4 separate regions of the Homo sapiens genome follow, and all the other regions are linked to region 2. Evidence: promoter capture Hi-C in 16 types of primary human blood cells and fetal thymus (Javierre and others, 2016). All regions are on one chromosome and are shown on one strand. The core of a region is centred on a gene start or on the middle of the fragment in contact, and the rest is flanking DNA. Distances in the headings are between cores, read along the strand shown.

What was found. Contacts are between HindIII fragments. The CHiCAGO score rates a contact against its expected background, and 5 or more counts as called.
Region 1: the fragment with the promoter of DMTF1 here is called in contact with a fragment that was not itself captured in region 2 in 1 of 17 cell types (fetal thymus); the score reaches 8.9 in fetal thymus.
Region 3: a contact is called between the fragment with the promoter of TP53TG1 here and a fragment that was not itself captured in region 2, in 3 of 17 cell types (non-activated CD4 T cells, total CD4 T cells and activated CD4 T cells). The highest score is 7.1, in non-activated CD4 T cells.
Region 4: a contact is called between the fragment with the promoter of BET1 here and a fragment that was not itself captured in region 2, in 4 of 17 cell types (non-activated CD4 T cells, total CD8 T cells, activated CD4 T cells and 1 more). The highest score is 7.6, in non-activated CD4 T cells.

The regions. Positions count from the first base shown.
Region 1 is chr7:87,147,756-87,154,513 of GRCh38, reverse strand. DMTF1 (cyclin D binding myb like transcription factor 1) reads right to left here and starts at 2,061. Exons shown (of 18, transcript NM_001142327.2): 1 at 1,959-2,061. DMTF1-AS1 (DMTF1 antisense RNA 1) reads left to right here and starts at 2,021. Exons shown (of 2, transcript NR_136253.1): 1 at 2,021-2,212; 2 at 2,856-3,091. RefSeq lists enhancers at 1,866-2,427, 2,273-2,512, 2,428-2,991. The HindIII fragment of the contact is 3,514 bases long and covers 766-4,279 here.
Region 2 is chr7:90,346,853-90,353,376 of GRCh38, reverse strand. It overlaps GTPBP10 (GTP binding protein 10), which reads right to left. Exons shown (of 10, transcript NM_033107.4): 2 at 368-561. All of the region lies in intron 1 of LOC107986715 (a long non-coding RNA gene), which reads left to right. Among named protein-coding and RNA genes, the nearest start is that of GTPBP10, 3.4 kb to the right of the region's middle. RefSeq lists an enhancer at 6,416-6,524. The HindIII fragment of the contact is 6,192 bases long and covers 939-6,524 here.
Region 3 is chr7:87,341,794-87,348,405 of GRCh38, reverse strand. TP53TG1 (TP53 target 1) reads left to right here and starts at 2,914. Exons shown (of 3, transcript NR_015381.1): 1 at 2,914-3,363. It overlaps CROT (carnitine O-octanoyltransferase), which reads right to left and starts at 2,742. Exons shown (of 18, transcript NM_021151.4): 1 at 2,639-2,742; 2 at 1,976-2,066. RefSeq lists a silencer at 2,717-2,926 and an enhancer at 6,564-6,612. The HindIII fragment of the contact is 3,653 bases long and covers 2,090-5,742 here.
Region 4 is chr7:94,000,341-94,007,369 of GRCh38, reverse strand. BET1 (Bet1 golgi vesicular membrane trafficking protein) reads left to right here and starts at 3,015. Exons shown (of 4, transcript NM_005868.6): 1 at 3,015-3,172. The coding sequence starts at 3,154. RefSeq lists enhancers at 2,449-3,078, 3,089-3,138, 2,593-3,198, 3,199-3,805. The HindIII fragment of the contact is 1,547 bases long and covers 2,338-3,884 here.

The DNA of each region.
Region 1 (6,758 bases), core at 812-3,311, 3.2 Mb after region 2:
GAAGACAGGGCAATAGCATTTTGGCTCCACCATTAGCTCAACTGCAACCAATTAAAGAGATTCACGCAGAATATGCAGGTGCTAAATCAGTCCCCAAAAGCATATTTTGGGGTGAGCCTATCAACTAAAATAGTAAGAAAAAAAATTAGCTTGTTTGGTGGCATACAGAAGCACCTAGTATCGAGAGTTAAAATGAGATAAAAATCACCACAATCATGAAATGTATTTTTCACACCTGTAACATAATGGTTTTTTCCAGATACAATCAGGCTGGTTTTTGTGCTTTCTGTATGGAAGAAAAAAATTATTCTCACACCAAATTGGATTCTCTCAGCATGACAATTTTTGTAACGTTAAGGAATGTAGCTTTAACCTTTTTTCTCTAAATCTTAACAGAATTTCTAAATCCTAACCAAATACATGAAATCCTGTCTCTAAGTACACCATAAGAGCAAAAAGATAAGATTTTGGTGTATCGCCATAGTCATTCTTTAAATGTTAAAGTGATGGCAAATTATTCAAGTTATTAAAAGACAGTAATCCTCAGAAAGCTATTTGAAATATAATTTCAAAACCAGCTTAAAGAAATTTGAAGTAATGAAAAAACATGAAAACCCTTAACTGAAAAAAACAGATTTTGCAATACTTTCAACATAGTGGAAGAATATTTTCGTATTTGGAGCTTAAAAGCTACAAATGGTTTTCTCCCACGAATTAAAAATACAGGTATAATTTAAAATTTTCCAAATGGCGTCACTTTAAGCTTAAGACATGTCATATTAAAAAATAATTCCACAGAATATGCATTTTGTAGGACGTCCCAACATGCAGCCTCGACTGTCAGAAAGGAGGCACACATAATCAAATCCATGTACATTAAAAAGAGGTACACAAAGATGAATGAGTTGCGAAAAAAGCAACTACACAAATTCAATGAGAGAAAGGGAGGAGTCCTGACTCATACTGTATACTATTATCCTTTTCCTTATCTACACCGAGTATTTTATATAAAGACATATGCTCTATCATTCAATTGCACAAAAGGGCACTTGGCCACTTCTACTCTCAAATCTGCTCTGGAGATTGTGGTAAAACATTCTACATACCTCCCTGAAGAAATTCTCAAAGCGAAGTACATTTTAGAGAACAAAGTGGACTTAACAATTTTAAGAACTTTCTCGGAACTCGGCACAATAGGGTAATTACAACTTTACAGCCGCATTTTCCGTGCTCCACCAGGACTGTCCCCGCGCCCCAGCCCACATCCCTTCTTTAAAGAGAGTCAGACTGAGAGAGACGGTTCGGCCAGCTATCCCGATTCTCTATGTCTGGGCCGTGAATCGCCGAGCAAGGCTGAACCCCCGCAAAATTACAGAAGAATCTAAAGCGCAAACGAGGGAAAAGAACAAAAAAGCAAAGGGGGGGAAGTTGGGTCGAGACCCACCCCCACTCTCTCGACCCCACCCAAGCCTACCTCTCCTACGCTGGACCATAAAACAAAACCGAAAACGTAACAAAAATAAAAACTAAAAATAGAACACCACGAGAAAACAAGTAGGGCTTCCTTACTGTCTCCACTCCTTCTGGCCCAGTTCTCTACTCAACCTCCCGGCCCACCCCACCCCCCAGGGGTCCCGGCGCCATTTAGCTCCTCCGAAGCCGCCGCCATTTTCCGCCCCCGCCGGATCGCCGCTGTGCCTCGGCAGCCGCTCGCTTCCCTACTCTGCAGCCTGAGCCACGGGCACCGCCCGGCCCTAAGAGGGAGGCCCTGGCCGGAACGTGCGGGGACGGCAGCTGCAACGTCAGGAAGGCCAGGCTCCGACCCCGCCCGCAGTGCCCCGGCGCCGACAGCTTGCGCCAGCCGGCGGGAGCTAGCGGGCAGCAAGGGGGCCGGACAGGCTCCACTGGGCGGAGCGGCCCTGGCGGCGGTTGGAACCTGAAGGTTCCATCGCACTTACTTCCTGTTTTGGGTCCGGGCACTTTGGAAGAACCAGGATGGAAGCTCCAAAAAATACCAGGATGGAGGAAGCAGCCACGGGCGAGAGTGGCTGCAGCTGGAGTGAGCGAGCGCGACGAGCCACCGGAAACGGAGCTGCGGCCGCGCCCCGCCCCCAGCTCCCCGCACGCTGCCCCTCCCGCTCGTCTGTCCCGCTGGCGGCCCAGCGTGCTGGCTGTACGCGTCACTTCCGGCTGTGTCGGCGCGCGAAAAAAGGTCCTGGGTTGGAATGTTTGTACTGGTCTGTGGCGGTGGTTGTCGGCTGTCCTGCCAGGAAAACTCGGCACTGACTATCCCACTGCTGATGCTGTAAAAGAGGTCCTTCTGCTATGACGCAACTGTGGTTCCTCTGGTTCTGGGGACACTTAGGCCTCGCGTGCCGATTTTCATAGTTCCCTGTGGCTCCGAGCCGAGGGAGCCGCGGTGTGGAACGGAGGGAACCAGTGATCTCAGTGCTGAAGAAAACAGGGAGTGTGTGTCTTCATACTTGATTTGCCTTACCGCAGGGGCATAATATGAGATATCTGGGCGTGTTAAGTCGTTCTTGATGAAATGTGTCCTCTGTGAATGTAGTCTCACTGTTAGACTAGGAAGATGCTGTTTTGCTGTGCCCAGTTCCTCTTAAAAGTACAGATGCTCCTTGGGTTGCAGCCGTATAAACCCATCCTAAATAGAAAACGCGTTTTAATACCCTTATAAACGAAAAGGATAAATAAGCCTTTGGGTTCTGTAATGTGAGCCAGCATTCTTTGAGTGCGTATGTGACAGGTAAATGTTTTACGTATATTAAACTCATTTAATGTTCATAAGTTCTAAGTGCATCGCTACAATTATTACAAATGAATCCCATTTTACACAGGAACCAAAGAGAAGTGAAGGAATGTGTCCAAGGGCTCCCAAGTTGGCGGTGGAATTAGAATTGAAGCCTCAGCTCCAAAGCCTGTGTTCTGAACTACCCGGTTGCAGTTCACAAAATACACTTTGGCAGTACTTTCATAACGAAAACAAATGATTACAACCAGTTTACAAATGCTTTGCTTTACTGGAGGATCGACATGTTTGACTAATTTTCAAAAATAAATCTCAGAAGCAGCATTTTCTTGTGTTGATAACTTTATTACTAATTTGTGGCACTCTGCATTCTGTTGGAGTTAAGCCGTGTATCATTCCATTTTTTAATAAGTACATAATAATGTTTATGTAAGCAAAACTATGAGGCAGAATAGTATCGTGGTATGGACTCAGGCAGTCAGACCTGAGTGTGAATCTTGGCTCCATTTCTTAGTAGTGGATATGGCACTTCACCTCTTTTAGCTTTGTTTACTTTAGGAGTAATAAGATGTACCTTCCAGAATATTGTAGACAGCGTAGTTTGCATGGAATCTGACGTGTATTAAGCATTAAAAATGGTAACTAATAAACCTTAAAGCCAGGAAAGCAATACAACTACTCAAAGAGCAGTTCTAATAAAATAATAATTACATATGCAAAATTGTTGACATTAACATTGATAAGGTGGTTCCTAATGAGCCATATTTTTCATAAGACATAACCATATAGGATTATTTTTGCTAAGGCACAAAATAGTGATATATAAATTATAGTCGGGCTATCCATTCTCCTCTGCTAAATTTTAGGTCAGCCTGCACGCTGCTAACTCCCCGCAAAAAGTCAAGTGCATCCTCATAACTAAATTCTCCCTTTCTGGTTGAGTTTCTTTTATAACTACCTTTTCCCAAGTCAATTGGTATTTATTTGGGGATGACAAATGTATTTTAATATTAGCTTAATGCATAATTTAAAAAAATATAATAACGTCTCTATCCCTTTAGCTTGAATAATCAATGTAAAGACTATCCATAACACAACTTGATTCCTAGAGCAATTTTCTGCAGTTATACTTCTATGTTATCCGTACCTCATTATTTAGTCAATGTGTACCTAGGGAATGGATGAGGTTTTAAATATTATCCAAGGATTTACCTATTTAGGAATTAAATGTTTTGTAGAAAAATCATTAGAAGTATTTCTATCCTAAACAATAATTATTAAAGTATTTATAGCTTAGCTATGGTATTTACTGCATTTGCTAGTTAAAATTGACTTTGTTGGACTCCAGGTGTCTATAACACTTTTGTGAACCTCATCAGTGATTGATGATGAAATTGCCTTTTATGACAGGTTGATATATTAATATAAAGTATTTCAAATACTGAGAAGCAGGTTCTGTTGTTTCATGATCATCTTTTGCTAATTCAGAAAAAAAAAAGATGTTTATAAGCTTTTGTTCAAAGTAAAAGAAAATTACAATTACTGAGTAATTTTCTTTCTACACAGGCTCTGAGTCCTGTTAATATAGCTGATGGGTATACACTGTAGGGCCTTCCAGCTGATGGAGATTGCTGTGCTAATGGAGGAATGAATAAACTGTCCCAGTTATGCCCACACACCAGGCTTTACCAGGTGGTCTCCTGTCTCAGATTCTTCCTGTAGGCTTCCCTCTGGGCCTTATGACACTCCATCTTACAATCCTTTTCCCGCCTTGCATTTTGCCTATGTGTCTCATCTCTGCAATCCTTTTAATACCTCAGCCTGGTGACAACCTCTCTATATCCACTTCACTTTTTTCTTCTTTTGTGGTAAATCTTTGTTGAGACCTATTGATAGAATATTAGCCAGAAAAGTGTTTCCTTATCAAGGGAATGGAGAGCTAAGGCGTCCAATACTCCTAGCCAATAAGGATAAAAATTTTTGTTCTGTCTTTGTAATTTTGGTGTGCAAAACAAAACAGTTCAGATACTTCACTAAAACAGGATAATATCCAGACCCAGACTCAAAGACCTGTTCCTTTATAATCTAGCATGGAAGAGAGAGGGACAATGTATTAGTTAACTAAGCAATAATTGCCATGTTTTGTAAGTTCTGAGAAAGATACAACTTGGGTGCTCTGAAAGTGAACTTTTACATAGAGAGTTCAGAGTAGGCCTTTCTGAGAAGATACTTAAGCAGAAAGGTAAGAATAAAGAAGCATAGTAGGGGGTGCAAGGTGGGAAAGCATTTGTCAAGCTAGTGCATGAAAGCATATTTGCAGAAAGCAACTGGCTTGTAAAATGTTTATAAAATGGTGAAAGCAGAGCACTGCCAGGTGATAGGCTGTCCCTTGCAAATGTTAGCTGAATTTCTCAAAAAACTTTATTGTGGTAAGAACACAACATGACATCTGCCCTCAATAAAATTTTAAGTATATAAAACATTATCATTGACTATGGGTACAATGTTGTACAGCAGATCTCTAGAGCTTATTCATCTTACTTGAAACTTTATGCCCGCTGATTACTAACTCCCCATCCCCTCTCCCCAGCCCCTGGTAAACCACCATTCCACTCTGATTCTAAAAATTCGTCTATTTTAGATACTTAACATAAGTGAAATCATGTAGTATTTGTATTTCTGTGACTGGTTTATTTCACTTAGTATAATGTCCTCAAGGTTCATCCATGTTGTTGCATATTGCAGAATTTTCTTCTTTTTTAAGACTGAATAGTATTCCTATTCCTCTGAGACTAGAGCTCAGTGCATGCCCAGACATAGCAGAAATGGGCCATCTTACCCCTTTGCCATGAGCTTTGATTTGCTAATATATGGCACAATACCTTAACTTAGCAGACATTTAAATGTTTGTTGATATTAAAGATAATTATCTTAAGCCAGAAGACTTGGAAGCTAGCCATTTCTATTCTTTGGCAAGAACAGCTGACTACTGGCGATCACACAGTATTTTTCCAGATAGTGTTGCTACTTGGACAATTCTGGACTAAAACAAACACATGTTACCTATTTTTCAAGTGGAAAGAAGTTATTTTAACACATCACATATTTGGTGTTACTCTAAACCTTATTGCCCAAGTCTTGTGCATCTAGATGCAGTATTTTAAGAATAGAAGCTTGTCATTTTAGCCAGCAGATGTCCCTATTGTTCAGCAGGAGTTTTTTTTTGTTTTTGTTTTTGTTTTTTCTTTCCCAAGTAGTAACTTCAACAGTAGATAGAAATTTTGGGGCCTTCATTGCTAATGATATGCTGTGGCAGACCAAGGACAAGCCTCAACAGTAATAAAGCTAAAGGGATAAGGATTCTGCTTTGAAATCAAAATATGAGAAAGCTCTCTAGAATTAAAAGACTTCTGGATTAATCCCCTTCCCTTCTATTCACTGTACATTTAATTCCTTTGCACAGAATATGCAGTGAAACAGGAAGAAACAAGGAACTACGATAATGTTTATAACTTTCAGGAGTTTGCACATTTGTGATACACTCGGTCATTTCATTCAGCAGCTCTTCCTGAGCACCTCCTTTGGGCTGAGCACTATTTTAGGCACAGGAAATATGATGGAGAACAAGAGAGACAACCCTGCTCTCAAGGAACATATATTCTAATGGAGGAGCTTACATTATAGTAGTATAAGTGCATCTTTGTGCCAAACTTTTTTGGGTAAAGTACTCACTAAATTACTGGCAACTGCCTGTAAAACTTGCTTATAATTAACAATGAGGGAAGAAAACAAAATATGAATCAAATTGATAGCAGTAGGAGGCAGACAAATTCCTTGGTGGATGGGACAGGTCCCAGTGAAACCTGACCTTCAAGCCAAAGACAGCCTGAAGCCTGAAAACCGGGCCGCCAGTTCCAAGTAGAATCCAGTACCCAGAGTGAGAACTTTCTTAATGCCTTTGAATGAATCAAATGGTGCTTTTTCCAGGCCC
Region 2 (6,524 bases), core at 2,785-5,284:
TTATCTTGCCTTCTAATGGTGGTGGGGTAGAGTAGCATGGTTAAGACTGAAAGTTTTCTAAAAGGTTGTCAAAGATAATTTTAGAAGAAAACAGTGGGAATTCAGATAATTATCGGTTTCTACAGGGGAAGTGCAAAAAGAATACAGATAGACATTGGGAAAAGAAACGGACAGAAAGTTTTAAAACTCTGAAATATTCTTTAGTATCAGTCTTTTATGAGTTGAGACATTTTAGGCTTTTGCTTGGTTATAAATACAGGAAATAATTTACTTCAAATTAACAATTAAGTTTTTATTTTGTAACTAAAAAAAAAATTTCCAGAAGGGTTTGATTTTCTAAAATTTAAGTCATTCAGTAATTACTTACTTGCTGTTTGCTCCTACTCCAGCCACAAACCGTTTCCGAGGATACCTGTCTTTAAGTTGTTTTAAAGTCATTCTGTTCTGGGCTACAACCCAGACATCACCACCTTTTCCACCTTCTCCACCTAAACGAGGATAACCCATTCCACCGGATCCTCCCCTGGTGAAGAGTCTTAGCTTATCGATGAAATTTCCATACTTAAAAAAAAAAGAGAAAGAATATTTGTATACCAAAAGTGTATCACCTTAGAACCTTTTTCTAGTTCTTTCTTCCACTAAAACTTCTTCTAAAAAAGTCGTTAATAGCTTTTCACATGCCAATTCTATAACATTTTCTTAGCTCACCTCCACATCTCCGATCTGACCCCCTTTCCCATTTGATTATCTCTCTTAAGTCCCTTTTAGTTTTTTCAGTTATCAATTATTGTCCCACCTATCCTGAGGGTTTCTGACTTGGCCCTGTTTTCATTCTAGACTTTCTCCCCTGGGTAATTTCTGCTTGTACCAATAACCATCACCTAGGTGAGATATTTTCTATGTCCAATCTGTCAGACATTTCCACCAGGATGAAAGCTTTTAATAGTATAAAGCAAATGTGAGCAGAATGTGTATTTAACTTATATTTGAAATTCCCCAATATGAAACTTGTTCTTACATATCAGTTGAATAATAGCCACCTCAAAAATAAATGTTAACATAACAAAACCAAACTCTTCCCCAGGTAAAATCTGTTCCTCCAATGTTCTCTAAAGTAACAGAACCATGGTTTACATATTCATTGAGACTACACAAATGGAAGTCTTTCAGACTACACCTGCTTCTTTTCCCAAAGCCCTACTCTCTTCTCTCCAGTACCACTGCCCTAGTACCTGCACCACATGAGCTCCTTTCAGTGTTTAGGCATTTTTTCCTTATTGCATTCTCCAACTTGTTGCCTGAACTATTTTTCTGAAATTGATCTGATCTCTAATCATGTTTCTCCTTTACTCAAAAACCATGCATTAAAAAAATGCTTATGAGCCAAGTGCAGTGGCTCATGCCTGTAATCCCAGCACTCTGGGAGGCCAAGGTGGGCGGATCACGAGTTCAGGAGATCGAGACCATCCTGGCTAACATGGAGAAACCCTGTCTCTACTAAAAATACAAAAAAACTAGCCAGGCGTGGTGGCGGGCGCCTGTAGTCCCAGCTACTCTGCAGGCTGAGGCAGGAGAATGGCATGAACCTGGGAGGCAGAGCTTGCAGTGGGCCGAGATCAAGCCACTGCACTCTAGCCTGGGCGACAGAGCGAGACTCCGTCTCAAAAAAAAAAATGCTTATGAAATAAAGTAAAAAATTCTTAGTACTACAGTTGACCCTTGAACAACACTGGTTTGAGCTGCGTGTGTCCACTTATATACAGATATTTTTCAATAAATATATTAGAAAAATTTTTTGAGCTTTGCAACAATTTGAAAAAACTTACAAAGCAAATAGATTGGAAATATTGAAAAAATTAAGAAAAGCTGTGTGTTATGAGTGCAAAAAATATATAGATGCTAATCTATTTTGTCATTTACTTCCATAAAATATACACATATCTATCTTAATTTTTAAAAACTAGAGATGGGGTTTTGCTATGTTGCCCAGGCTGGTCTCAAACTCCTGGCCACAAACAATCCTCTTGCCTTGGCCTCCCAAAGTGCTGGAATTACAGGCATGAGCTACTGCACCTGGCCACACATCTATTATAAAAACTTAAAATTTATCAAAACTTACACACACACTTACAGATCTTACATGGCAGCATTTGCAGTCAAGAGAAATGTAAGCAAATGTAAAAATGCAGTATTAAATCATAACTGCATAAAATTAACTGTAGTACATCGTGGAATACTGTAATAATTTCGTAGTTACCTCCTGTAACTATCCCGGGATCTCAAGTGTCCCAAGTTGCCACTTAAAAGGCCATGTGATGCTAATCGTCTCCCCATGAGCAGTTCATCTTGCCAGTACATTTTATAAGTCAGTAAAAAGTAATCTCTCACAGTTCTCTTGCATTTTTCATCATGTTCAGCGCTACACTGTAAACCTTGAACACCACCATGGAACCCATACAAAGTGCCACTAGTGATGCTGGCAGTGCTCCCAAGAAGTAAAGTCATGACACTACGATAAAAAGATGAATTGCTTGATATCTACCACAGATTAAAATCTGTAGCTGCGATGGCCTGCTATCTCAAGATAAATGAATCCAGAATAAGAATCAGTGTAAAAAAAGACAAAAATTCATGAAGCCACTGCAGCAGCTATGCCAAAAGGTGTGAAAACCTTGCACTTTTTGTGAATTAACTTTTTATCTTGTATTAAAAAGGCAACTTTTATGTAGATGCAGGATTCCTATTTTAAAAACATAGACTAATACAATAAAAGAAAAAGTAAGGTTACCATATGACAACTTAAAAGCAAAAGGAATGTGAAGGATCTAAAGCTAAAGAATTAATTGCCAGCAAAGGATGATTTGATAATTTTAGAAGGAGGTTTGACTGTGGAAGACAGTTCTAGATTCCTCAAGAATCTAGAACTAGAAATACCATTTGACCCAGCCATCCCATTACTGGATATATACCCAAAGGATTAAAAATCATGCCACTATAAAGACACATGCACACGTATGTTTATTGTGGCACTATTCACAACAGCAAAGACTTGGAACCAACCCAAATGTCCATCAATGATAGACTGGATTAAGAAAATGTGGCACATATACACGATGGAATACTATGCAGCCATAAAAAGGATGAGTGACATGGATGCAGCTGGAAACCATCATTCTGACCAAACTATCACAAGGACAGAAAACCAAACACCACATGTTCTCACTCATAGGTGGGAACTGAACAATGAGAACACTTGGGACACGGGGGGAACATCACACACTGGGACCTGTCATGGGGTTGGGGGCTGGGTGAGAGATAACATTAGGAGAAATACCCAATGTAAATGACAAGTTAATGGGTGCAGCAAACCAACATGGCACATGTATACCTATGTAACAAACCTGCACGCTGTGTACATGTACCCTAGAACTTAAAGTATAATTTAAAAAAAAAAAAGAAGAAATAGGTTTGGCTTTGGCTTTAGAAATATCAAGATAACAGGTGAAGCAGGTTCTGCCAACTAAGAGGCAGCAGATGAGTTCCCAGATGCCATTAAGAAAATCACTGAGACGAAAGAATATCTCCCAAATCAGGTTGTTAATGCTGATGAAAGTACCCTATTCTGGAAAACATGCTACAAAAGACATTAGTAAGGAAGAGAAGGGAGCACCAGGATTTAAGCCAGGAAGGGATAGGCTAACCCTACTGTATTGTGCAAATGCAGTTGTGTTTGTAATCAGGACTGTCCTTATCTATAAAGCTGCTAACCCCTCAATCTTGAAAGGGAAAGATAAACATCAGCTGCCAGTCTTTGTTGGATAAGAAGGCCTAGAGAACAAAAACCTTTTCTCTGGATTGGTTCCATGGATGCTTTCTCCCTGAAGTCAGGAAGTACCTTCCCAATACGAGACTGACTTGTAAAGTTCCTCTGCTAATGGACAGTGCCCCACCTCCCCGCTACCCAGAACCCCATGAGTTCAACATCAAAGGCACTGAAGTGGTGTCCTTGCCCCCAAACACAATGTCTGTAAATCAGCCTCTAGATCACGGGGTCGCAAGGACCTTTAAGGCTCATTAAACATGATTTTCTACGAAAAGGATTGTCAACCATGGAAAAGAACACTAATAGAGAAAACTTCAGGAAAATCTGAAGTTTACATAATTGAAGATGCCATTATTATTGAAAAAGCCATGAAAGCCATAAGCCCCAAACAGTAAGTTCGTGCTGGAGAAAACTTTGTCCAGGTGTTGTGTTGTGTTATAATTTCACAGGATTTACAAAAGAGCCAATCAAGGAAATCATGAAAGAGGCTGTGAATATGCCAAAAACGGCGGGAAAGTGGGTAAAGGACTTCAAGATATGGATCTTGAAGAAACTCAAGAGCTAACAGCCACCAAACCAGAGGAATTAACAGAAGACAGCTTGATGAGTGCTTCAGATCCAGTGCCAGATAACAAGGAAGAAAACACAGAATAAACTACCAGAAAAACGAACATTAGATAATCTGGCAGAAGAGCTCCTATTGTTCAGGACTGCTTTTGACTTCTTTTATGACATGGACCCTTCTGTGAAGAGGCACTGAAACCAAAGCAAATGGTGGAAGAGGTATTGGTACCCTATAGAAACATTTTTTTGGGGGAAAGAGAAAAGCAAAAGCATGACAGAAATTATGATGTACTTCCATAAAGTTACACATAGTGTGTCTGCCTCTCTTGCCTCCCCTTCCACCTCCTCCACCCCCACCCCTTCTGCCTCTGCCACCCAAGAGAGCAAGACCAACTCCTCCTCTTCCTCCTCAGTCTATTCAACATGAAGACTATAAGGATGAAGACCTTTACAATTCACTTCCATTTAATGAACAGTAAATATATTTTCCCTTCTTTCTGACTTTCTTAGTAACTGTTTCTTTTCTCTAGCTTAATTTAAGAATACAGTATATACTATATATATATTTTATATGTGTCAACTGACGGCTTATGTTATCAGTGAGGCTTCCAGCCAACAGATTATTAGTAGTTGTTTTGTGGGGGGAGTTGAAAGTTACATGAAGATTTTCAGCTGTGGCGGGGGCATCTCTAACCCCCATGTTCTTGAAGGGTCAACTGTATATCCAAAGCTACTAAAATACCCTTCTGGTATCTTTTATTTTCTTTTTTTTGAAACAGGGTCTGGTTCTGGTGCCTGGGCTCGAGTGCCGTGGCACTATCATAGCACTATCATTGCTGCAGCCTCAAACTCCTGGGCTCAAGCAATTCTCCCACTTCAGCCTCCCAAATGGCTGGGACTACAGGCACCACACCACCCCGACTGTTTTAAAGATGGGGTCTTGCTATGTTGCCCAGACTGGTCTTGAACTCCTGGCCTTAAGGGATCCTCCCACCTCAGCCTCCCAAGTAGCAAGAACAATAGGCTCACCTACCATGCCTAGTTCCTTCCTGTATCCTTTTCACTTGCTCAACCCTTCCTCTCTTCCTCTTTGCTCTGTACTACATGAAATACCGCCATTTCTACATGCCATTCTGCTCATGCTTTTCCTCTACTTAGAATGTCATTTGTTTTTCCTATCATAAATCCACCTAAACGTCATATTTTCTAACGTCTTTCCAAATTCCTCTAATCAATTCTCTGACTTTGCTGGCTCTCCCAGCAATTTGATTATATCTCTATTATTACACCTTTATAAATCTCACGCTGCATTTAGTGTTTACCTGTTTCCTTCACTAAATCAAGAACTTCTTGTAGGTAAAGGACTTACGTATTAACCTCTTAGGCTATTAAAATCAAAATAACTTAAGGAGTAATTTCTTAAATTCATAATCCACATCTCTAGTCATTTAGGATAGCTATTATAAAAAACAAATGGGATTTTTTTTTCAAGAAAGTTGAAATATTGACCATTCTGATATACTCGAGGAGAGTTTCTACAGTTCCATTAAATATGTAACACTTTTTTCCTGCTCTAGATTAATCAGATTCAGGGGTTTAGGAGCCTTACTTAAAAGGAGTATTTTACTCTGGTCGTTAGAAATAAAGTAATGGCCAAATATGACGCAGGCAACGTTTCAAAAAGCATTACTGATAGGATAAGATTTAAAAAATAAAAATTCAAAGCAGTTGTAAATTTTTACGGAAACGATTCTTAAGACCGACACCACACAAAAATCGACCTAAATGTTCTGCAGGAAGGCACATCAATTACACGCTTTCGTGTCTTCATAAAAATCCATTAGAAAAACCTTAAACAGCGCACTCAAGGAGAAATATATAAAAACAGGCTGTGGACATTAAAGGAAAAAAAACCACCACAACATTTGGGCCACAGCAGGCAGGTATCCCAGTTCCTCATACCACGTGCACACTATGTCTCTAAAGAACTTCAAACCCTGCCCCTGCCCCCAAACAACCGTCCAAACCACGCCAGGTACACACACCACTGTCACCGCTTACTGACAAAGCGCCACTACAGGAGGGGCGGAGAAGTCTATGGGAAAACCAAGCAAGGAAAAGGCCGCCACGAAGACAG
Region 3 (6,612 bases), core at 1,665-4,164, 3.0 Mb after region 2:
CTGCTTTAATTGCACAGGTCGTATGAGGTCTACACAGAATGGTCTCAAGTGTTCCAAAGCAATCTTGAACATATTGACACGTGTATTAATTGCTATCAAAGAAATCTAACTCAAAATGTGAATAAGGTATACAAATGCTAAATAAAAAATGAGGTTTCTCAAAGCCTTTGTAAATTATCATATATTAATTATATTAAATAATGTAATATATTAAATGTAATTATATGTTAAAATAGCAACTGAGAAATCAAAGAACGTTAATATTGAATTTGAACTTCCTATTCTCTCAAAAACTATTTTTTAAAACTGATAGCAACGCTAAACAAAGTATTCCACTCATAGGTTACAGAATCGAACACTATCAAAAACATGGACACAGAAGAGACTATTTTCAGCTAATACCTGTTTTCCTCTGCTTTAACAGAATCCTGAGTTGTAGCTGTGCATACAGCCCCCAGTTTTATCTTTCCTACCCTCTCTTGGAGCTCAGTGTGGCTTTGTGATGACCTTGTGTGTGTCACTTCCAGGTCATGCTCCCAAAAAGGAATGCATGTGTTCTCCCTGCACTTTCCCTCCTTTTTACTACCTGCTAGGTAGTGACGAACTAAACAGCACCATGGCCTCATTTATGGAAGTCATATATGCAGGATTGCAGAATCTCCCTACTAGTCCTGGACTCCTACCTCTAGATGTATGGAAAAAAAAAAACTTCTATTTTATTCATACCATTGTATTTTGGGCTTTCTATTGTAGGGAGAAGAGCTTAGCCTGTACCACTAATATAAAGAGATAATTTGAAAATGAGAAATAATAATTAACTCAAAGTTCTTTAGCTTCTTTCTATCTATTGACTTTGGCTGCACACCATTTTGACCATCCATAAAAATGGGTTTGTACCTAATGGAAATGTAGATCTGGATCCAAGTACAGACTCTGCCACTTTCTAGCCATGTGCCCCTAGGGCAACCAACTTTAAGTGAATTTCCTTATCTTAGAGTGGTTAATCATACAATTCAATAAAGTCAGAATTTGTTTTCAATGCCTGTGAAAGCACATTATAAAAACAAAATAATCCTGCCTGAAACCACCATATTGTGGTAGGCACAATTACTATGAATGGCCCCCAAGATTCCACCCCTGCTAATCCCCAGAACCTGCGAATATGGTGAGATCATTACTCCTGTGATTGTGATATTCTCTACAGAACTGACCTTAAAATAGGGATATTATCGAATTGGAACTAATCTAATCACTTGAGTCCATAAGAGCAAAGAGCTTTCTCTGGCCAGTGGCAGACAAGTAAGACTGCTTTAATGCTTGAGAAGGATTTGTGGTGTCTTTGAAGATGCAGATGGCCTTAAAGAACTGAAAGAGGCTCAGGCTGACAAACAGTAAGGATATAGAAATGTCAGTGTGAATTCTACCAACAATCTGAAATAGCCTGGAGGTGGATTCTCCCCTAGAGCCTCCAGAAAAGAATCCAAATCTACAGAAACCTTGGTTTCGGTTTTGTGAAATTCTAAGCCAAGTACTCAGCTAAGCCCACCCAAACTTCACATTTACAGAAGCTATGAGATAATACATTTGTGTTGTTTTAATTGTTGCATTTGTGTAATTGGTTAAGGCAGCAATAGAAGACTAGTACACACATACAGAGAAGATAAGCTATTCTGTTTACCTCTGTGCCACTTAATAGACTCTAGAAAACTGGAAGCAAGAGTATTAGTTACATACCCACTATAGTGCTTAACCCACCAACCGGTACACATTAAAAATATAAATTATTGGATTCTTTCTTGAAGAGTTTTCTTGAATTCTCAACCACAAAGATTAAGTTAAATAAGATGGTTCCAATAGCACTAAGAAAATGATTATGCTAGATTTAATTAGAATTGACTTTCTGGGGGCAATTAGATATGAATTCACAGAAAGTGGAAAAGAACCACGAACAATACGTGAAGGAATTGTCACATACCAGTACACCAAGAAGATGAACTGCTTGAGACTGCCAGGAGCCTGCTGCAACAATTGTTTTGAGATCACAGGGAACTGGACTAAGTCGGTGACTGTGGGAAGAAAGAAACAAGCTTAACAAATATTTAAGAGGGAAAAAGAAATGAACAAGCTAGTGAAAGAAGGTGGAATGCAGACAAACTAGGAGTTGGGAGTTCCCAAGACAAACTTTTCGTGAATCACTGCAAACACACGCAAATAGTCCACCTGCTAGAGAGCAGGAGTAAATGATCATACAATTAAGTAGGTTTCAGACAAGTACACCTTCCATTAGACGGGTTCAAAGGGTAGAGGATACGTTTTCAGTGGCTGGGTAACAGGTTCGTCGCAGAGTGGCAAGGGGTAGAAGCAGGAGCAGAGGGCAATGAGAGCTCGGAGGCTCTTCCCACCAACCCAAGAGCAACTCTGCACTCAAGAGGCCATCAAGTGAGAGAAATCTAAGCACTACAACGGAGCAGCCCCGCGGCCCAACCTTGAGGGTACCCCTGAGACCCCAGCAGGCGAGATGCTTGATGACACTACTCCCCCACCAAATCCAGGCACCTTTGCGGTTCTGCACGACTTAACTTTCCCCCGCCCCCGAGTTGAAGGATTAGGGGAGGGAGGGAATGCTGCTTCAACGGACCTGTCCGTCCTCACCGCCCGCGCCTCGCCGCCTCTGCCGCAGCCTCAGCCTGCAGCAGCACCGGCTCGCTCCCCCTTGGGCCTCAAAGGTGCGGGAATTGGACTGAAGGCCGCTAGGGTCCCGCCCCGCATTCGCCGGGGAACAGGATTGGATAGAAAGCCGCGAGGGTCCCGCCCCTCACTTTCCGGGGAACGGGACTGGACGGACAGCTGCAAGGGTCCCGCCCCGTGCCTGACGTCGGGGGCGAGCCGGGCCTGCGCGGTAGTGGGACCCGACCCTGTCTCCAGTGGGCGTCTTGGGCCCCGGCTCTATTCTGGGCTGCGGGCCTGGGAAGGGCTCGCCGGGTGCCAAATGAGCTGTCCTAACTCTGCGGGGCTGCAGCTTCCTGCATGATGCTGGGGAGCTTGGCGCCTGACCCAGGATCTAGAAGGCACTCTGGGCAGGCCGCGCTCCGCCCACGAAGGTACCCAACCCTCTGGGATAGATGCAGGAAGCGATGGTTAAGACCCATTTTCACCCAACTTCTCGCCGCAGGTCTGGCTTACCACACGCTCCTCCCCATTCCCAGTGAGCCGCTTTTTGCAGCACCAGGCGAACACTTACACCAGTGCTTTGTAAAGGAATCTTATTGTCCACCCCGTGTCTTGGCAAAAGAACAGTGATCACACAGATTCCTACTTGGGCTCTTTCCTTTAATCTTCGGAGGCTGAGTTTGCCCAACTCAGGTATGCCGCAGCACACTACATCATCTCGGGTCTCCTTGCTCTTCTGCAGCTCTTCATTGCTACCCAAGTTATTTGAATACCCCAGGGATGCTTACCCCCGGGCCTATCTGATGTCTTTTACTGTTGTGCCAAGAAATGGAATCTTTAACCAGAGTGGAGCTACCCAAGTTCTAGAAGATCATAATGTGATTGACTTAGTTTCACAGATTAATTCATTTTGCTTTTACCTTCTGAAATAAAATATACTGTTTCATTTTTAATTTTAAATACACTGTTTCATTTTTTTGTGGAAGGAAAGACCAAATGTTTACACTGACTCTGAACTAGTTATCAAAGATAAAGATTTAGATTTCAAATTAACATGTCATGACAGGCCCCATTCCTTTGTCTGTCGTTTCTAACTCCTTTAGCAGTAAAGTTTGACCTGAAGGGAAGTGAGGCTATGTGTAACTGAATGTTCCCTTTGTGTAAATATTCATAAGTTTTCTACAGAAATATTGTGTTTGATTACAGTACAGCTTGCTGGAAGTGTTTCATAATATATGGCAGACGTACTATTCTAAGAAAAGTTCTGAATTTTGAAACATATCTAGCCAAAAAGATTTTAAATAAGGGATTAGGAATTTGTAGTTGTAATTTCTGAAGGTGTGATAAAGAACTTTTTCTTTCATATATAAGTGCGATGCTCTGGATGATGTTAAAGTTTGCTTACAAGATAAAGTTTTTAAATTGAGTAACTAAAAACTACTCAGAAACCTTCGTTGTATTTTTTTTCTCCTTTTTAGTGAGTCTTGGCATCTCTTTAAAAGTTTATGCATGTTTAATGCCTGTTGGTGCATAGAATTTAGAACCATTTCGCTTCACTCTTTTTCCTACTCTTGTTGTTTATTTCAATGGAAACAAGATGTTTCTGTAAAGATTCCTGAATTATCGGATAGACAAAAAGGTGTGGGAGTGAAAAAATGAATGGAACACAGATTTGAGTATGTAGAAAAAAATCTTTTAAAATATGTTATACTGATAAGCATATGTACCCCAAATCACCAAAAACAGGTATTTTAAAATATGTTTGGCTTCAAAATGTGTGATATATATTTTAATGAAAGATTCCAAATTATGTTGCATTCAGGTTAAACTTGAACGAGTTTGCATTTCTTAGAGTGGAGCGGGAGATATTGGCTGGTAAGGAAGATGTTTTAGGCACTTGAAGTATTTGTGATAGCAAGAAGTTGTTCCAAGATTAAAAATTGACTATGAGTCAAAGTAACTTTTTGGAGGAAAATTTGTAAGTAGTACAAGTGGTGATAATTTTTTAAGTTGCCATTAAAAAAATCTTTTATTTTTGTTCTTCTGTAGTTCTTACTCAGCATACCACAAATTGCAAAAGACTTTATAGATAAGTCTAGATAAATTTCACCATTAAAAAGTATTAAAATGCTAGACTAAGAAGTTCATGTTTCAATCTGCATAACTGGCTTCCTGCTAAGATTTGTGACTCTAATAAGTAAGGAGATATGGTAAATAGCCCTAATCTATGGGAGACCTGTAACCTCCTTTCATTCTGATGTATAAAATGAACATGTTGAAGAAATAATTTTGTGATGTTTCTTCTTTTTAATGGGGGGGCAGTAGAAATATGGTCATTTTGGGAAGCAGCCAACAGCAAATTAAAGTACACTGGACGCAAAGAGGGCAATGTAGCATTAAAAATGAACTCCACTGCCAACAGCAGATGAACAGTGTTTGATACAAAAGGTCTCTTTTTAGTACTAATCATTGATTTGGGGTTGCTTTTGATGATATTTACAGTACATGAAAAGTTGCCACCAAAATCTGAGGGGAAGAGTTAAGATAACTATGATGTTTTTGCATCTCAGAAAAAAATACCTTCTTACTAAACAAAATATAACATTTAAAAATTTTGTTAACATCTTTGTTGAAATATAATTTACATACCATAAAGTTCGGCCATTTAAAGTCCACAAATCAATGGTTTTACTATATTCACAGGGTTATGCAGTCACCATAAGCTAATTTTAGAACATTTGGTTCAAATATTTAAAAAGATTATTTTCTACATACTCAAATCTCTGTTCCACTCATTTTTTTCAGTCCCACAACTTTTTCTATATCCAAAAATCCAGGCATCTTTACAGGAACATTTTGTTTCCATTGAAATAAATAACAAGACTGGGAAAAGAGTGAAGCAAAGTGGCTCTAAATTCTGTGTTACCAACAGGCATTAAACATGATTCATCAACTGACTGATGAATGTATGAACCACTTTTTGTTTGTCCATTCATCAGTTCATGGACATTTGGGTTGTTTCTACCTTTTGTCTATTTAAATAATGGTACTATAAACATTTGTGTACAAGCTTTGTGTGAACAGGCTTTCAATTAGTATTTTAGGAGTGGAGTTGTGGGGTCGTATGTTAACTCTATGTTTAACATTTTCAAAAACCGTCAAACTGATTTCCAAAGGAACTGTACCGTTTTTACATATCTGCCAGCAATATGAGTTTCAATTTCTCTGTGCCTTTAGTTACAATAACAATATAACAGCCCTTGCTATTGTCTTTTAAAAAAAATACAGCCACTCTAATGAATGTGAAGTGGTGTCTTGTGGTTTTGATTTACATTTTTTTGTGAAGACTAAGAGTGTTGAGTATTTTTTCATGTGCTTATTGGCCATTTATATATCCTCTTTGGAGAAATGTTTATTAAGATCCTTTTCCCATTTTTTAATTAATGCACACATTTTAAAATTATATTAAAATTAGGCAATGGTCTGACCATAAAAAGGCTGCTTATGGAATACTGTTATGTTAAACTTCACTTACAGGATGCTAAATCCTTAGAACTGAGGTTTTCCCCAGAAAAAGATTAATGGAAACATCAGTTGCTTTTCAGACTTGATTCTGCTTCAAAAGATGATTTTACACAAATAATTTTAAAAAACTTTAGTACACAACGAATCACTTTTAGTTTGGTATGCATCCACATTTCAGCATTTAGTAGTGGTCCTGAACAGAAAGTGAAAAACACAGCAATTTTTCCAGGAGGTCAAGTCTGCCAATTTCAGGGATCTGCTGTGTACCCCAATTTCTTTCTTAATCCCTGCTGAGGATCTTGAGAAGCAGGAGCAGCACCAAAACCAAGGCATGCACTGGATCCAAGGTTCTTTTTGTTCCAGTTGTGAGATTCCAAACTAGACCCCAGTGGATTGCAAGGATGACCAAATGAGAGC
Region 4 (7,029 bases), core at 1,766-4,265, 3.7 Mb before region 2:
CAAATGTGTAATTTTAGTGATTTCACGAGTAGCGTGCTCTTATGTTTGCATTTAAAACTGTCATTGCACAATATAAAGATCAAGGGTAAAATTAATGCTAATAATTTATTTTTTTCTTTACTCAGAAGAATATTAAATAGCAAATAAAAACACCATGACAAGTTGGTGTGGGGAGGGGAGGAACGATGGTAGGGAGATTACAGAAGAAAACAGAAGAAAGAGAAGTTTTGTATCTTAATACCTTTAACTGAACTTTTCCCCTGTTTTCTGAACTAGAGGCACAACATTTTCATTTTGCCCTGAGCCCCACAAATTATGTGTCTGGCTCTGCTGAGGACTTTAAGGTTGGAATTGTGTGCCTAATTTTTACAAACTATGGCTGAAAAGCTTGCCATCAGTGCTAGTAATATTCCCAAATTATGGAAAAGACAGATCAAATTGGTGACTTTTTGCAAACTCCTTGAAAATATTCTTCGCATTCTTAAAACTTTTAAGTAAAACTCATTCTTTCTCAAACATGAATAACCAAAATAATTTTTAAACACTCTATTTCTTCTTTAATGGCTTTGCTTTATTTTATCACAAGTATTACAACATTATTTTCCTTCTATTGGTCTTGAAAATACGCGGTATTTCTGCTGTCCTATGGGTTACACAGACTTTGATTGGCCAGCATAGTAACTCTAACAGCCATGTGTTTTCTGGGCTGAGTTGGGAACCTGACCATCATTTCAGTCTTCAGGGAAAATGTGCTTTAAATACCAAACAACAAACTTAGAAACAAACTTTGTCCCATAGCTTGTTTGTAAATCAAGAGCTTTTTGTTTCTAGTTTACATTTTGTGACAGTTCAAATATGATACCCGAGATACTGAATTTGCTTCATGATTGAAAAATGTGTTAATGTTTATTGAACCAGTTTTGAGAGCTTGGTATGCTCTTTTCCCTTGGATTGGACTTGAAATTTGGTCAGGAAGAGGTAGGACAAATGGGCAGGCAGGAAGCAGACAGATAGGAGAAAGAAAAGTTCCAATTTTGCACCTCGATTCAGACATTTCCTGCTTTTATTCTTGCTTTTGTAATTACTAGAAGGAATACTTAATATTATTTTAAGTAATTTTTAGTCCTTTATCTCCTAGAGACCTACAAACATTAGATGTTTTCTGTGAGACTATCCTGTGAGAATAGAGAAGAGGTTCTAAATGCTATTCATCTCTGTGAAATTTATTTGCTTTCAATCAGTAAGAAAAGTTAAGGATTTTAATTTAAAAAGGAAAAAGCACAACGAGAAAAGTGAAAATGATTCCCTCTGATCGCTAATGTCAACTATGGTCACATTTAATAATTCTTTTTCTGCACATTGAGTTCATTTTTCCTGCCTCTTCCTTTGAGTGCAAATTTTTTTCAGATGACATTATCCTAATTTGATACTAGCAACGTTAGCTAAAAACAATAATTGGATTTTTTAGGTAACAACTTCAATATGAACTAGCTTTGCCTTACTTCAGTTATATTCTTAGTACATTATATATGTTTTCCTTTTAACTACATTTCATTCTTATGTCTTCCTACCATGTAAAGGAAGCAGTATATTTTATGTAATCTAAATGATTAGTTCTAGTAAATATTACCATATTTTCAAAAATAACGATTTCTACATTTCCATCAGCAAGCCTTCTGTAAGGCAATTTTTAAACGTTTTAATTATAGAACATGCATTTTTTTAACCAAAGGACTGTCACAGATTTTAAGTTATAAAGGGATACCTAGCTATCATTTCTTTTATTGAATCTCCATCTTTTATTTGTAATAATTGTCCCTGATATTATGCTTATTTAATTTCATTGCTTTTAGAAAATGGCGGTTTTATTTTAATGATTTTTTTCTATCAAAACACTATTGGATAAAGCCTCCTTCCCAGGTTAATAACTCTTATTAAAAATTGTTTTCATGTGTTTTTTACAAAAGCAACTTAACGCAGAGACTTATGCCAGTATTATAGTCAATGTTAATAATGTCCTGGGAAACTATGAGGAAACGCTAAATGATCAAAGATCACATATTCGGAAATCTCTAGTGTGGAGACGATTCCACTGCCATATATACAGCAGCAACAACAAAACCGCAGACACCCAGTGAATTTTGATCACCTACTGTGTATCAGGTTTTTTTGTTTTCCCTTCAAAAACCACGATTTCATCGTATTCTCACGATAAATCCTCTGAGATAAAATGAAATTCTAGGATTAACCTCGATACCAGTAACACCTCCAACTCGCCAACAAGTTTTAAACCCCTAATTGGCACACTGCCTTGTGTAAGCAGTATTTCAATAAGCTTTGTGTAAGTTAAAAAAAAAAAAGTGGGAGAGCGTTTAGGGGTCCTTTGGTCCCCATAACAACTAAAAGTCTTGGTTCTTTCTAGAAGTACAACAGATGCAGTAACAGGGAACTAACTATTCAGTGCCTCTGACCAGATCCCGCAGCCTTTCCTAGTCTGCTCTCATCTGAGCAGGAGTCCTACTCAAAGGAACCTGGTTTTCTTTCCTTTACTGGATACTACAAGGCACAAATCGGTTACTTCTGTGGGTGTCGGATTACTTGTTTGTAAACTGAGAAACCTGGACAAAGTTTTCTCTAACTTTCCCTGAATCGTCTCTGGAGGTGAGAGGGAGTTCGAGGCTAAATCAGGAAAGATACCCCAACCATCCTCTTGTGGGTGGGGAGGAGCAGATCTGCTGGGTTAAACTTGGTGGTCAACAAACTGAAAGCAGCGACCCGCGGGCTGCGAGCGGAACAGCGGGAACGTTGGATCAGAGACCCAGAATCAGAGCCGCAGTCGAAGCCGCCCCCTTTTCCGGACGCCCCGTCCGCTCCTGGAACCGGGTTCACATCACGCCCTCAGCAACACGTTATGCGTTGGTGAACTACATTTCCCAGAATGCCTTTCAACCTTCTTCCCAGGGCTCCAATGAGCGCCGTGGTGACGCCATCATCCGGCGCGGTGTTTAGACTCCACTGATGTCGTGGCGCTTTAGGGGAAGAAGTTGGTGTTTCGCTGGGCCCTGGTACTGAAGACGCGGTCCGGGTCGCCCCTAGCTGTTTCCTACTCACCCAAAGCCCCGCACCCGCCTTTTCTCTCTCTCCTCTGGCAGGATGAGGCGTGCAGGCCTGGGTAAGAAGAGGGCTGAGGTTCGAAGTTCGGGGCCCTAGAACCGGGAGCGCTGGGGCGCGGGAGGAAATCGAACCTGTCTTATGTTCCTGGCATTTGGTCCAAAAAACAGGATGTCTAGAGGGGATCTTTGGGGTCCATGTCGAGTGGAAACACACCATTTGTCCCAGATCTTTGGAATTTCCTTAAGTTTGAGTCAGATTCAAGTTTGGATGGTAGGCTAGAGAAAGTAGTGGACTAGGGGTGGGTGTGTACAGGTGGCATCTCAGTGGTCGAGTGTTTTAGTGTTATTGACTGAGCGTGGTTATGGACGCTGCTATGTTTTCCAAAGCCCGACTCCGGTTTCTGTTTCCCTACTGGCCCTGGATCTTAGTTTCTTCAGAAGCGGAATTTGAAGAGTGGGTGGTTGCACCCAAAGCACGCTAGTAATGGTCGTTAATCTGGTAACAGTGAGTTACAAAGGTAAATGTATGTGTCATTATTGTTAAAGGTCCTGGAACTGGAACTTCTGGGTCAAAGGCGATTTCTTAATCTGAACCTTGTGCCACGGTTAAGGCAGTAGAACGTGGTTAAGGTTTGGCGACTTAACATTTGATCTTTACCTTTGGGGTTAGGAAACTGGCTCATCAGCAAGAATAAGTTAGACACAAGGAATTTTAATGGACCCTTATAGTAACGCACAGCTACTAGAACGGCATTTTCTGGTTCTGAAGCTTTCTCTTAGGACACGATTTTTTTTTTAAAGAAGACCCCGCTAAATTAGAGTGCAGTATACTTCAGAAAATAAATGAAACATTTGAAAAAAGATATTACCTTTCTCAGTCATTATAAGATTGAAAAAAGAAAAAAAAAATCCCCAAAGTGTCAGATATTTAAAGTCAGTGAAAGTTGCCAATAACCGTAGACTTGTTTATTGATCAATAAATTGTAGTATGAGAAAGTTTTTTGTTTTTTTAATGAAGTTTTTATGAATACTTAGATCATAGAAAATGGGGCCAGGTAAATTGAAGAGAAAAAAAAAAGAAATAATTTTGAGCAAGTTTAGCTTTATATGTCTAAATGTTTTTCTTGTTCATCATCCTTAATACCAAAAAAGATTTATTGTGTGCTTGAGTAAGCTCTAGGTATACAGTTGTTTGTTGCCCTGTTTGTGATCCCCAAAGCTTCCAGTCTAGGTGGGGAGTAGGAATATGTGCAAAGATAAATTGTAGTACAAAGTGTCGCTATACATCCAAATACCAGATAAGTTCTACATATAAGGGATGGTCTCAGAGATTTCAGAGATAGATCACTGTGTACTTTGTGGGGAAGATCTTTGTGTATTTGGTGGAGACATAGGAATTTGAAGTAGACCTTGAATAATGGAGAGTGGGGGAAGTGAGTTCCAGATAGGAGGAACTCAAAAGAAGTAAGGGATTATGATTAAGCCAGTTTGGGTGAAGTAGGGGATTCGGGATCACACTGTGGAGATCTTTGCATGCGAGGCCAAAGAGTTTGGATTTCATCAGTAGGCCCCTAGGCCCTTTTGAGTATTTTCCTGCTGCAGTGTGCCATGTTAAATTGCAGGAAAGTGACTTGAGTAATGGTTCTCAGCCCTGACTGTACATTAGAATCCCTTGGGAAGTTTTTAAAGTATTGTTACCTGGACCTCAGCTCAGCCAGTAAAATTAGAATTTCTCCAATTTAGAGCCCACTACCTTCTCCTTTTTTCCTTTTTTTTTCTTTCTTTTTTTTTTTTTTTTAAAAAAAAGCTCTTCTGTGATTGAGAGGAGAAGTAATTACCTAGGTAACTACTATTGCTATAATTTACATTGGTGTGAAGTGACAAAGGCTTTTGTTACACATTTTTTCTTTTCTTTTTTTTTAAAGTATGAATGCATATTGACCTGAAATTTTAAATTTGGGATCATAGTGAATCTGATACATATCCATAGGCAGAAGCTGCCACACTTCACATGAATCTCTAAATGGTTTTGTTAGCTTACTGATAGAACCTATCCAAAAAAGTAGCGTTTATCTAAATAAACAAAGGCTGAGGATGATCTTCAGTACTCACTAGCTTTTTTACAACTTTTCATAGCAGTACACCACCAGAAGAGAAGTGGCTTTGTTTGGAATAGCAATTCTAGCATTTTATTTGGTTTTTACTTTTGTCATTGTATTTGGGATGGGTCATAGTTTGAGGGAAGATCAACTCTTTAATAGGAATGTGCATTGATATATTTCTGGACGATAAATACAACAAGAATTTCACTTTGAATAAATGGAACAGCATGGAAGAACTCTAAAATTAAAATTAAGATAGGCAAAAGCAACTAAACAAAGGAAAGAAAAAATAGCAGTTAATTTATAATGAATTCCTTGGTGAAGTTGTCAAATGTTTGAATTCAACCAGTCAGTAATTACTTATTGGGTAAATGTTATATACTCAGAACCTCAGCCACACAAAATAAGAAGACATTCTTTCTTTAAGTATCTTGGCCCTTATTAAACTACAGTTTGCACAGAGTATCATTGGTTAACAGAGTAAGAATGCATTTTTAAATGGTGATTTTAATATTTGACTGAGCGGAAAAATATGCCCACTCCTTGAGTTCTTTTATAATAAAACATGTGGAGAGCTTCATGGATAGTGTGTCATGGATAGTGTGTCAGCAGCAAAATTCAGATAGTACAACTCTCTTCTGTTTGGAAAATACTTCTTCAATATTTTGTTGTGGTTTTTGTGGTGGTGGAGATTGCATAGGTATCTGCTGCATATAAAGTACTCATTAGGTACAGGGAGGATATGGAAGCATGAGATACTGTCTTTGCCTTCAGAGAAGCATATGATTCCATTCTGGACAAAGGTATGCACATTCAAAGTTCAATAACAGTGAACTCAGATTCTTTTCATTAATTAGTTCACATCATGTATTCATTGAGTGTGCCTTACAGTGTGTATGTGTTTGTAGGTTTATGGGGGGACATACAGTGTTGAGTCAAACAAACTTATTCTCTTCCCTTATAGTACTGTACAGAGTGCAATATTAGTGTTACATACAATCAGAGCTGTAAGAAATCAGTGAGAGTTTTGCTTCATAGGGAAAATGAAATTTCTATTGTGCCTTGAAAGAAGTTCCTATTCACACCTTGACTGTCCTTCAGTGATCAGTGCTGTTACCTCCTGTCACTGCTGCTGCATCTGCTCATTGAGCATATGGAGACTTCTAGTTTTGTTTGTTTTTAATAGATGAGGTCTTGCTGTGTTGCCCAGGCTGGTCTCAAATTCCTGGCCTCAAGTGATCCTGCCTCCCTCAGCTTCCCAAGTAGCTGGGATTATAGGTGCAAGCAACTGTGTGCAGCAGGCTCTGAGACTTCTAGTTTTGATATCATTCCTTTCCCCACATTCTCAAGTCACTGTTGAATCTGCTTTAATATCTGTCCAATCTAATCCCCATAATCCAGATCTTCAACCGCTCTTTTGGCAAGCAGTCTCAACCTCTTGGGGCTCCGTTTTTCTGCAACCTCAATATTATAAGCTTCCAACTATAGATTAGTCCAACCATCCACCTTCTCCTGGACTAACTCAGGCCGATGAACTCTTCTGCAGAAAAAAACCACACACCTGGGACGATTGAAGCCACCGTAGTATATTGCCTCAAACAAGTTTGTTTTATCTTTAGTAATCCTGTGCAGTCCCGGTCCCTTTCCTCCATCATTCTCCTTACTGTATATTCTGAATGATCACCCATTCTTCAGCAGATAGCCCGTTTTCTCCCTTTACTGAGAAAATTGATGGCAACAATTATGTTAAAAAAAAGTTCACGCCTGTAATCCCAGCACTTTGGGGGGCCGAGGCGGATGGATCATGAGGTCAG